3 separate regions of the Homo sapiens genome follow, and regions 1 and 2 are each linked to region 3. The links are contacts of gene promoters, found by promoter capture Hi-C in blood cells and fetal thymus (Javierre and others, 2016). All regions are on one chromosome and are shown on one strand. The core of a region is centred on a gene start or on the middle of the fragment in contact, and the rest is flanking DNA. Distances in the headings are between cores, read along the strand shown. Region 1 overlaps PSMA3 (proteasome 20S subunit alpha 3). Region 2 holds the start of TMX1 (thioredoxin related transmembrane protein 1). Region 3 holds the start of CNIH1 (cornichon family member 1).

What was found. The method cuts DNA at HindIII sites, captures the fragments that hold promoters and counts their contacts. A CHiCAGO score of 5 or more calls a contact.
Region 1: a contact is called between a fragment that was not itself captured here and the fragment with the promoter of CNIH1 in region 3, in 1 of 17 cell types (fetal thymus). The highest score is 5.4, in fetal thymus.
Region 2: a contact is called between a fragment that was not itself captured here and the fragment with the promoter of CNIH1 in region 3, in 1 of 17 cell types (fetal thymus). The highest score is 6.5, in fetal thymus.

What each region holds. Positions count from the first base shown.
Region 1 is chr14:58,245,103-58,248,665 of GRCh38, reverse strand. It overlaps PSMA3 (proteasome 20S subunit alpha 3), which reads right to left. Exons shown (of 11, transcript NM_002788.4): 2 at 834-916. Among named protein-coding and RNA genes, the nearest start is that of PSMA3, 2.0 kb to the right of the region's middle. RefSeq lists enhancers at 3,350-3,563, 2,914-3,563. The HindIII fragment of the contact is 2,580 bases long and covers 945-3,524 here.
Region 2 is chr14:51,239,048-51,242,884 of GRCh38, reverse strand. It overlaps TMX1 (thioredoxin related transmembrane protein 1), which reads right to left and starts at 2,638. Exons shown (of 8, transcript NM_030755.5): 1 at 2,441-2,638. The coding sequence starts at 2,592. RefSeq lists an enhancer at 2,360-2,599 and a silencer at 2,460-2,802. The HindIII fragment of the contact is 1,305 bases long and covers 651-1,955 here.
Region 3 is chr14:54,439,926-54,443,509 of GRCh38, reverse strand. It overlaps CNIH1 (cornichon family member 1), which reads left to right and starts at 2,136. Exons shown (of 5, transcript NM_005776.3): 1 at 2,136-2,263. The coding sequence starts at 2,183. RefSeq lists enhancers at 1,793-1,852, 1,729-2,527 and silencers at 1,933-2,202, 2,243-2,602, 2,613-2,662. The HindIII fragment of the contact is 1,439 bases long and covers 1,560-2,998 here.

The DNA of each region.
Region 1 (3,563 bases), core at 985-3,484, 3.8 Mb before region 3:
TTCTTCATTCAGGAAAAAACACATTCGTTTTTAAGGTTTCAATTTTTTAAAGATATTTCCTCATATTTGCATAAATCTGACTTTTTAAAATCGTATTTAGGCTGGCCACAGTGACTCACGCCTATAATCCCAGCTCTTTGTAATCAACGAGAAATATAGGACTGGGGCTACTCTCTGGGAGTCCGAGGTGAGCGGATCACTTGAGGCCAGGGGTTTGAGACCAGCCTGGCCAACGTGGCAAAACCCCGTCTCTACTAAAAATGCAAAAATTATCCGGGCATGGTGGCACATGCCTGTAATCCCAGCTACTGGGGAGGCTGAGGCAAGAGAATCACTTGAACCCAGGAGGCGGAGGTTGCAGTGAGCCAAGATCGTGCCACTGCACTCTAGCCTAGGTGACAGAGTGAGACTCAGGTCTCAAAACAGAAACAGACATAGAAAAAATCTTTGCTGAATCGAACATGTGACTAATTGCATAAGACATTTAAAACACAAGATGTATGAGAAATAAAAAATAACAAGGTCACAAACCTAATGGCTGAGGAAGCCTATGATACAAATCAAGAATTTGAAAATGGAAAACAAAAAGATGATAATGAATGTGATTTATACACTCTGCAACATGGAAAATCTAAGTGGATAATCCTGGAATCAACGAGAAATATAGGACTGGGGCTCATGGAAAGCATCTGGCCTAGAAAGAGATCTGGAAATGAATAAATTGAGATTTGGGGACATATACTAATTTGTACCAAAGTAACATAACAAAGCCTAATCGCCAAAAATATATAAAATAAAAGGAGACATGTAATACCTGGTTAAATGTTTCTTACCTACTATTTTCCACAGCCTTCATAGCATATTCAACTTGAAAAACTCTTCCGTCAGGAGAGAATGTAGAGGCTGACAGGTCATACTTAAGGAGAAAAGGGCAACAGTAAGCTTGTATCTTTGGCAGTAATGACCATACAGTTTCTTCCCCTCTAAATGGCTGAAACATCAGGAACCTGTTATATCCCAACAAAGACCTTGCTTTCAAGAGAGGAAAGGGAAACTTGTCAGAGCAGCAACAGTAGCTAAGATAAAGCTATATACCTTCGATTTCAGCTATTGAAGAGTAATGGATACAGGTCCCAGGTGAAGTCAGAACACTTTTCACCCAGACTACAAAACTCATTTTTGAAAAAGATTAATATGGGGCAGTAGAACCAGCACTGGAGTTCGAACATTTAAATTTGTAACGATAACTCTGCCATTAACAAACTAAAAGACTTCAAACAAATCATTCGGCATTCACCAAGCAGTTAATGAGTATCTATTATGTTACTATACGGAATACAAAGGTATACTCATTCATTAAGTCCTTCAGTTTCACATCAGACATGAATCTAGGTGCTAGAGGTACAGCAGTAAATCAGAAAAGGCACTAAGATGAAAATAAAAGAGTAAAGCAATGAACTACTACAGACTACATCATCAGGGAAGGCCTTCTGGGCAGTTATATTTAGGCTGAGTCAAACCTAAATGACAAGGAGCTAGCCATTTAAGATATGAAGGAAAAGTCTTCTTGACATTTGGCACAAAGATCTTAGGGTAGAAATAAGGCTAGCACAGTCAAGAAACAGAAATAAGGTCACTGTGTCCCAAGCACTGTAAGCAGCAGAAAGAAGAGTAAACTGTGTTAGTGAGGTAGCTGAGGGCCAGATTATGTTGTGTCTTCCAGGATGGAAAAAGGACTCTGTATTTTATTCTAAATGCAATGAGAAATTTAAGCAGGGGGAGTGGTATCATCTATATTTTTAAAAACATCATTCTGGCTTTATGCGGAAAATAAGCTGTAGAGAGAACAACAGAAGCAAAGATAAGGTGTTCCAAAGATAGCGGTAGTAGCTTAGACGAGAGAAGAGGTAGAAGGGAATATTTTTTGAGAGTAGAGTAAAATATAAAAATAATAAAAATAAACTTGCTAGGCCAGGCGTGATGGCTCATGCCTGTAATCCCAGCACTTTGGGAGGGTGAGGCGGGCTGATCACAAGGTCAAGAGATGGAGACCATCCTGGCCAACATGGTGAAACCTCATCTCTACGAAAAATACAAAAATTAGCTGGGCGTGGTGGTGCGCACCTGTAGTCCCAGCTCTTCGGGAGGCTGAGACAGGAGAATTGCTTGAACCTGGGAGGCACAGGTTGCAGTGAGCCAAGATCGTGCCACTGCACTCCAGCCTGGCAACAGAGCAAGACTCCGTCTCAAACAAAATAAAAATAAAAAAATAAACTTGCTAAAGCGTTGGTTCTGGGAGTAAAGTAAAAAAAGGAATTAAAGATGAATAACAGATTTTTTCATATGACCATTCACTGAGCTGAAGACTGTAGTAGATGCAAAATGGCAAGGTGAGGAGAAAACCCAGAGCTCTACTTTCACATGCAGTACGAAATGACTATTAAACGATCAAGTGAACAGACATGTCAAGCAGACAAACAAATATTCGTATCTGGAGTTCTTGGGAGAAATGAAGACAGAAGAAAAGCCTTCAGCAGTGGTACTTTCTGAGTCTGTTTCCTGATCTGTTAAACCCAGATCATTAACCCTACCATTGTTACTAAAATATCCCACATGGTTACATTATCAAGTATTCTTTAAAAGGTTTGTAGAATGAAATACTATTAATTCAAGGTAATATTAATATAATTGCAAAGTCAGTTTGCTACAAGATTTAATATTGAGCATTTACTTATCCAAGAAAAGTATGGCAGAACTTTAGCATTCATAACTGAATGGATTAAACCATTCCAGACATAAGTTGCCTATTATCAAATTTAGAACACCGGTACTTGAACTTAAGGCTGAGCATGAGAATCTTGTTAAGAAGTAGAAATTGAGGAACTGAGAAACTCATTATTCAATAACTCTAGTGCAAATAACCAATAAATCTTTTAGAAACTGTATTTTCTATATAGAGAAGTACATAAAAGGAGTAAACTGACTGCACATATGCAATACGTTTAACAAAGGAAAGCCAAACAAGTTAACAAGTCCCACTGCAAAATCCTCAACAGTCTATGAAAAGTCTGAAGCTGTTAAGTTCCTAAGTAACCATTTAAACGTTTACGGAATAAATGCCTACAAGCGCTGTTAGGTAATTTGTATAGGAAAAACGAGAAAGGAAAAACTGAAGGATTCATCAGATTGTTTTTCAGACCATTTTTATTAGTTCTGTTCCGACAGGATTTCCAGTGACTCTTAAACTGAGCGGTCAATGATCTGCACACTTAAAGACAGAGAAGGCCTGTGAATCAGCAGCACCCTAGGAACTGCAAACGCAGTCCACAAAAAGCACGATCTCCAGACCCCGGAATCCCAAATCTCACTGCCTCGGTGGTTCTCAAGAGAACACACTATTTCAAGCCCCACGAGTTTCCACTTTCGGTTTCCCTAAGTGGCTGAAGAAAGTGACTCAGCAATCCAAAGCGGCTCCAAACCTCACTGCGGCGACGCCAAGCCGGCTACACCTGCGCTGAAAAGCTTCAGGAGTCACGGTCACCTGAGACGCAGGCCTAGCATAT
Region 2 (3,837 bases), core at 54-2,553, 3.2 Mb after region 3:
GATTTACTGTAGATAATTCACTTGTAATTAGGAGCAGACTATTACTAAAACTACTAGAGTCCTTCTTTTTCAGGTTCGTTTTGTTGCTCAGTTGCTTTTTTATTTTTTGAAACAGGGTCTCGCTTTGTTACCCAGGCTGGAGGGCAGTGGCGCCATCTGGGCTCACTGCAACCTCAACCTCCCGGGCTCAAGACATCCTCCCACCTCAGCCCAAGTAGCTGGGACTACAGATGCCTGCCCACACGCCCAGCTAATTTTTCGTATTTTTTTGTAGAGACTGGTTTTTGCCATGTTGCCCAGGCTGTCAGTTGCTTTCTAAAAACTTACTTTAGAATCTCTACTTAAGGAAAAAGAAAAACTACTACTCTATAGCATAATTTCAGATAGATGCTCCAATGTGGATTTACCTCATACTCAATGTTTTGTTAGTCTTGTTCTCCTTAATACTACTTCTGATTGCTGTATTTATATAGTTGGACCATAATGAGTTAAAAAATATCCTTGAGTAATACTTGACTGTATTTTGCATATACACACACGATCACTATTGCTTAATATATTGCTTATAACACTATTTTACAGGCACGATCTAAAACAAGTTACTCATGATGATGACTGAAAAAGTGTCACAGTTCCTCTCCCCTGAAGCTTTCAATGGTGCCTGAATGAAAATTCATTTCAGAATTGCAGACTACATGCATACTATGAAAATTTCCCTTTATCTTACCCTCCATATAAATGTTCTACTTTTTTTTTGAGATTGAGTCTCACTCTGTCGCCCAGGCTGGAGTGCAGTGGTGCGACCTCGGCTCACTGCAACCTCTGACTCCCAGATTCAAGCGATTCTTCTGCCTCAGCCTCCCGAGTAGCTGGGACTACAGGCGCGTGCCACCACGCCCAGGTAATTTTTTGTATTTTTAGTACAAACGGCGTTTCACCGTGTTAGCCAGGATGGTCTCGATCTCCTCACCTCGTGATCCACCGGCCTCGGCCTCCCAAAGTGCTGGGATTACAGGCGTGAGCCACCGCGCCGGCCAGTTTTGTTTTTTTAAAAAATAACACAGGACTTACTGATTTAGCCTTCTGGGTTCTCCCTTGGGGATGTCACTTTCACTGGCCTCCTTAACTTGACAACCCTTGCTGTATTCGTGACACAAGAAAACACTCACCTGAACCCTGTTGTCTTTTCATTTTTATTTATTTACTTATTTATTTTGCTAGTTGCCCAGGATCTCTTGAACCCCTGGGCTCAAGTCATCCTCATACCTCAATCTCCTGGGTAGCGTACGCCACTTCCAGCTGAACCTTTTTAAAGAAGAAGGTGTTCTAACAACAATTATTGTATGCCTACTCTGAAGACCCAAAGAAAGCCAGCACAGCAATATCTGCATAGGTTAACTAAAGTATTTAGGTATCTTGTTACTCATTTGTAAAACGTGAAAAACACCTGTCATAGAGAATTTGTAGGGAATTAAATATGGTATTCGTGTAAAGGTGCTTAGTGGTGTCCAGTACACTGTTAATAATTATGCTTTTACTATTATCAGTAAATACTGCTAATATGTATAATACCACCATCAACAACGACTTAGCATCTAAAGCAAAGACAGATACTTTATTTCCCACCGCGGCAGAACAGATATTATTAAATTGAAATCACCACACAAAATACATGATTTCGTTCGAGCAATAAATGATGACCTGGCGCTCTTGAGAGTGTATACATTAATACATTATCTTTTAATGTAATACCATTTACAAAGACCTAGGAGTCACAACCCAAGGTATTCTCTACACTACAAAGACACCCAAAGGAAAAATGAGATGAGGAGTGAAAAAAAGAGAAAGCAAAAGAGGAGGCAAAAAGAGAAAACGAAAACTTAAAAATAACCCAACTTGAATTGACTCAGTATTTACAATAAAAAAGAAACGTACCCAATCCATTAAAAAAAGCTTAAAAGCGCCAAATTCCAACACCATAAAGAGACTATCTTTTAAGGACAGACAAAACGAGAGGAGAAATTTTGCTCAATATTCTCTTATGTAAAATGTGGTGAAAATAAGTGTAGAAGTCTGTGAAGAATCACTTTAACTACTTAGACACGAGTCGGACACCTCCCTCCCCGCGCCCCAGTCGCATCCTCAAAGTCATGAAAAATGTCAGAATTCGCATTGGCACTAACCCTTTGGGCGCACCACAACCCAAGAAACGAAACGAGGGTGCACCCCAGAAGAAACTTAACATTCACGGGTAAGAGACGAGGGGGTGGGACCAAGCTGGCGGCAGATCCCAAGAGTTTGGGGAGCTGCAGAAGTCGGGGACGCTCGCTCCGCAACTCGGAGGCGCAGTCCTGGGGAGCCTGCGACCCGCACGAGGAACGTGCGGGGTGAAGTCGTGTGTCCAGGCACGGACGTAGGACCCTGGCCGCCCCGCACTCACAATTCTATCATCCAGTCTCCTTCCAGCAGTTCTCTCCAGTTCTCGTCCGTGATGACGCGAACGTTGCTCCGCCGCCCGTGCGTCCAGGGAGCACCCCAAAGCAACAGCACCAGGACTGCCAGGGGAACTGCAAGACTCCCGGAGGGCGCCATTTCGCCGCTTGCCCACCTCACAGGGAGCGCGGTCGCAGCTCCCACTTCCGCCCTCGCGGGCTGCTCAGCGCAAGCGCACTACGGTGCTGCGAGGAGCGCCTGTCTAGAGGACTCTCAATGCGCATGACAGGGGTCTGATCCCAGTGAGTGGTGAAGTCGGGAAAGAGGGAAGAACGACTCTCCGCAATGCGCATGACAGAAAAGCGGCTGCTTCTACCGCCTAGGGTGTCCCAATATTGTGGGGGAAGGAACAGAGCAAAAGGAGGCGTGGTGTAAAAAGTGGGGCGGTGCTTTGAGGAAGAACGGTTTAAAAGACCCTCCCAGGATTTTGGCGCCAAATGGTTAGCGTTTACAAGCAAATTGGTAAGTTTATAATGTGCTAAAGCAGTTTTCCAATTAAATGTCCTTCAGAGTTCTCATTTGTTTTCTTTGAAACATGTAGTAAAGCTAATGGATTTTATAGGAGTCGGAATATTGGTTTACTTCTGAGAGATTATAGACAGGGAAGGTGCAGAGGAACATTATGGTTATGTTGGATGTGTTGGAGGTGTTCAACATCTAGATATGAACAGTAGTTACATGGGCGTACGTATATGATTTTTTTTAAAGAAGGATCAAGCTGTACATTTTAAGACAGTGCACTTTATGCACTTTCAGGTGTATGTTATCTCTCAAAAAAAATTCAGTAGGTACAGAGATCCTAGGTCAGTACTTCAAAATGGAACCAGACACATAGGCTTGTAAGATATTTGAGTTTTTTCTCTCAAACATTCGTAAATACAAATGCAAACCAAAATGTGCACTGCCCCATCAGTCAAATGAAAATAGTTGCAGGTGCGGTGGCTCACGCCTGTAATCCTAGCAAAACAGGGAGGCCAAGGCAGGCGGATCACTTGAGGTCAGGAGTTTGTGACCAGCCTGACCAACATAGTGAAACCCCGTCTCTACTAAAAATACAAAAATTAGCCAGGCGTGGTGGCAGGCGCCTGTAGTCCCAGCTACTCAGGAGGCTGAGGCAGGAGAATCGCTTGAACCCGGGAGGCGGAGGTTGCAGTGAACCGAGATCATTCCACTGCACTCCAATCTGGGCTATAGAGAGAGACTAAGTCTCAAGGAAATAGTTGCCACTATCTTACCTCACCTTTTCAACTTAATTAACCCCAATTAGTCCCCTTCCCCACCCCTCCACTGAATAGCCCTCTCAAGGACACCAGCGACCAGCAAGATAAATCCCAATTGTTTCTT
Region 3 (3,584 bases), core at 887-3,386:
CCAGCTGGCTTCACCCAGCATATCCCACACCGGGGCTGCAGGTGGAGCTGCCTGCCAGTCCCGCGCCGTGCACCCGCACTCCTCAGCCCTTGGGTGGTCGATGGGACTGGGCGCCATGGAGCAGGGGGTGGCGCTCGCTGGGGAGGCTTGGGCTGCACAGGAGCCCATGGAGGGGGTGGGAGGCTCAGGCATGGCGGGCTGCAGGTCCCGAGCCCTGCCCCGCGGGAAGGCAGCTAAGGCCCGGTGAGAAATCGAGTGCAGCGCCGGTGGGCTGGCACTGCTGGGGGACCCAGTACACCCTCTGCAGCCACTGGCCCGGGTGCTAAGCCCCTCATCACCCGGGGCCGGCAGGGGCGGCCGGCTGCTCCGAGTGAGGGTCCCGCCAATCCCACGCCAACCCGGAACTCCAGCTGGCCCGCAAGCACCCTGCGCAGTCCCGGTTACCCCTCGCGCCTCTTCCTCTACACCTCCCTGCAAGCTGAGGGAGCTGGCTCTGGCCTTGGCCAGCCCAGAAAGGGGCTCCCATAGTGCAGCGGTGGGCTGAAGGGCTCCTCAAGTGCCGCCAAAGTGGCAGCCCAGGCAGAGGAGGCGCCGAGAGTGAGGGAGGGCTGTGAGGACTGCCAGCACGCTGTCACCTCTCAAGATCTCATTACCTTGTCCAGGCTGGTCTTGAATTCCTGAGCTCAAGTGATCCTCCTGTCTTGGCCTCCCAAAGTGTTAGGATTACAGGCATGAGCTGCTGTGCCTGGCCAAAAGTAACTTGATAATTTGCACACAGGTGCCACATAATCCTGGTGGTACAGGTTGTACTGTCCAATACACTAGCCACATTTTACTTAAAGTGATGTGAAATTTAAAGTTCAGTTCCTCAGTCATGCTAGACAATTTACAAGTGCCCAATGGCCACATGTGGCTAGTGGCTACTGTATTGGGCAATGTTTAGGTATCGAAAATTTTCACCATCACAGAAGGTTCTATTGCACAGCACTGGACAGACCCTGCTTCTAAACTATTCTACGCAATTTGCTAGGTGAACGATCTTTAATGCAAATCTAAACATGGTCTTCTTTTGCTCAAAAGCCTTCAATGATTTTCTCTTCCATCAGCAGCAATCAGTTAATAGAGTTTTTTTCTTTTAAAAATGGTTGTAATGGAAAGTTAAATCAATTTTGAATCAATTTTGTGTGTTAAGACCAGCATTAAAAACAAGTAGCAAAAGAGAGAAGGGAAAGTACTTATGGATCATTAGTACAGTTTTGTGAAATTTTTGTTTTGGTCATATCTATATTTCTTTGCCTCTATAACTAGATTTCCACCTCTTCATAACTTGATGTCTGTATGATATTCCACTGGGTTGCAATGAAAAAAATCTTTCTAGTTGTGTGTGGTGAGCAAAAAATTTGGGCTTATGGGATAAGAAGTCTGAGCTCCGTAATGAAGCATTATAAGGCCCTCTATGATCTGATCCCTTGCTAATTCATTTCTAAGTCTCACCACTGTCTTGCACTTAGGTTCCATTAATACAGAATTGCTGCTGGTTTCACCTGAGACACGAAGCTTTATTTTTCTTTTCTTTTTTCCATCTCTGTTGCGTTTCCTCATTCTGAACTGTTTCCTTGGACTGCCAGTTCTACCTTCTTTTTGCCTGGAGAACTTATCATCATCTAAGGCCAACTTAGGAAACACCTACAGCAGGAATCCTGCCTAAATGCTCCAGGGCGGGCTGGCTGTCCTTCTTTGACCTTTCAGAGCATCCCACACACATCCGTTTACGGGGTTATAATAACGTAATTATTTATTTAGGTGTTCATTTCCGGCACTATACTAAGTTCTTTCAGTGCAGGTACTATCTTATTCATCTTTGTATCTGAAGCGAGAAGCGCGGTACCTGTAACAAACTAGGCATTCATTCAATAAATATTTGTTGAAAGAATAAACGCAAGAAGGAAGGAAAAATCAATCAACAACTGTGCGGACAATGTCAGTGCAACGCAGACTCCGGCCATCAGAGGGCGCCGGGGCGGCTGGGCTGGTGCGCAGGCGCGCTGAGAGGGCTGGCGCCGCGGCGGTAGCGGTGGCGGTCGCGGCTGTGGCCGGGGGAAGTGAATGGTTTTACCCAGAGGGCCCTGCGCCGCCTTTCTCCGCTGGCAACGGCGCCGCTCCCCGCTCCTCCTCCCCAGCCATGGCGTTCACGTTCGCGGCCTTCTGCTACATGCTGGCGCTGCTGCTCACTGCCGCGCTCATCTTCTTCGCCATTTGGCACGTGAGTAGCTGGGGCTGGGGAAAGGAGGGCGAGGCGGCAACACAGCCTCTTTTCGCCCCGGGCCCGCGGTCCGGGCCGCCACGGCCGCCGGGGCTTTGCGCGTCGGGGATGCGGCCCGGCTGGCACGGGCCGCGCGGCGAGGGGTCTGGGGGCCGCGGGTACTGGAGGAGCCGGGGCGCGCAGTCGCCAGGTGGACGCGCCCGCGTTGCCTCGGCACAGGCCGCGCGCACCGCTACTCCTCCCCTACTGGATGGGGCGGCCGCGGTCCAGGCGGGCGCCCGCGGTTCCGCGCTGCGTTCGCACCGACCTCTGCCGGCCCGCGGCCCTGCATTCCCGGGGAGGATGTCGACAGCGCGGTGGGACGGCCGTAGTGTGAATGAAGTTTTCCGAATTTTTGTTAATACAGATTGACTTTCTTTTAGGGTTTCCACAGAACTGTGGCCAAAATGTAACCTACTTAGGGTGAATTTCCAACTCTACTTTTCAGCACTTGTTCGGTGCTCTTCAAATCAAATCACTTTTTTTCTCTTTTTCCAGATTGTTGTTTCCTGGTGAACTTTGATGCAAGTTCAATTGATTACTTTGTTGATTGCATGTGCGCGTTTCCCCCCCAAATCATACTTTGACCGCTGGAGTTTCAACAGGCAGCTTTCCAAGCCACCCTTATATTCAGGATTGCTTGATTTAGTAGAGGGAGTTTTCATTTGATTTTGAGATGCTCAGAAACCTTAAGCTTTTCTGGGGCAGTATTTATTTCTGTTACACACATCATCATCACTATTGCAGGGTGGAAGCACAGCCTTACTGGTCCCTCTAAGGAAAAAGTCGTAAGTTCCCTGTGACATAGTTCTACAGAGATAAGAATTTCTGTTGCTTTAGCACAAAATTAAAAGCCTTGAGAGCCTTCTGGAAATCATTCATTAAAAATTTATCTCATACTTGCTTCTCTTTTCCCCATATTCCAGTGCCTTCTGGAATGTTGCTTTTAATTTGAATGACCGCGTTCACTCTTACGTAGATTTTAAGTCAGGTTTCATCATGCCAGTAACAAGGATTTCTATGAAACATACGGAGGGGCAGAATGATTAAACAGCAGCAGCGTCTTGTGCAAAAAAGTCTCGAAAGTGGAAGCATATCACAAATCCATTCCTTTTTGCTAAGCAGTGTGATTATGTTTACAATTATTTTAGGACCTGACTGCTTATTGTAATCAGGAATACTTATGTAGGCTATTAACTGTGTCGGAAATAACTGCTACCTCAGAATGCTTGTCAGTAGGAGCAGTAATTTGAAGAGCATCTTCAGCCCTGCTTTGATGGAA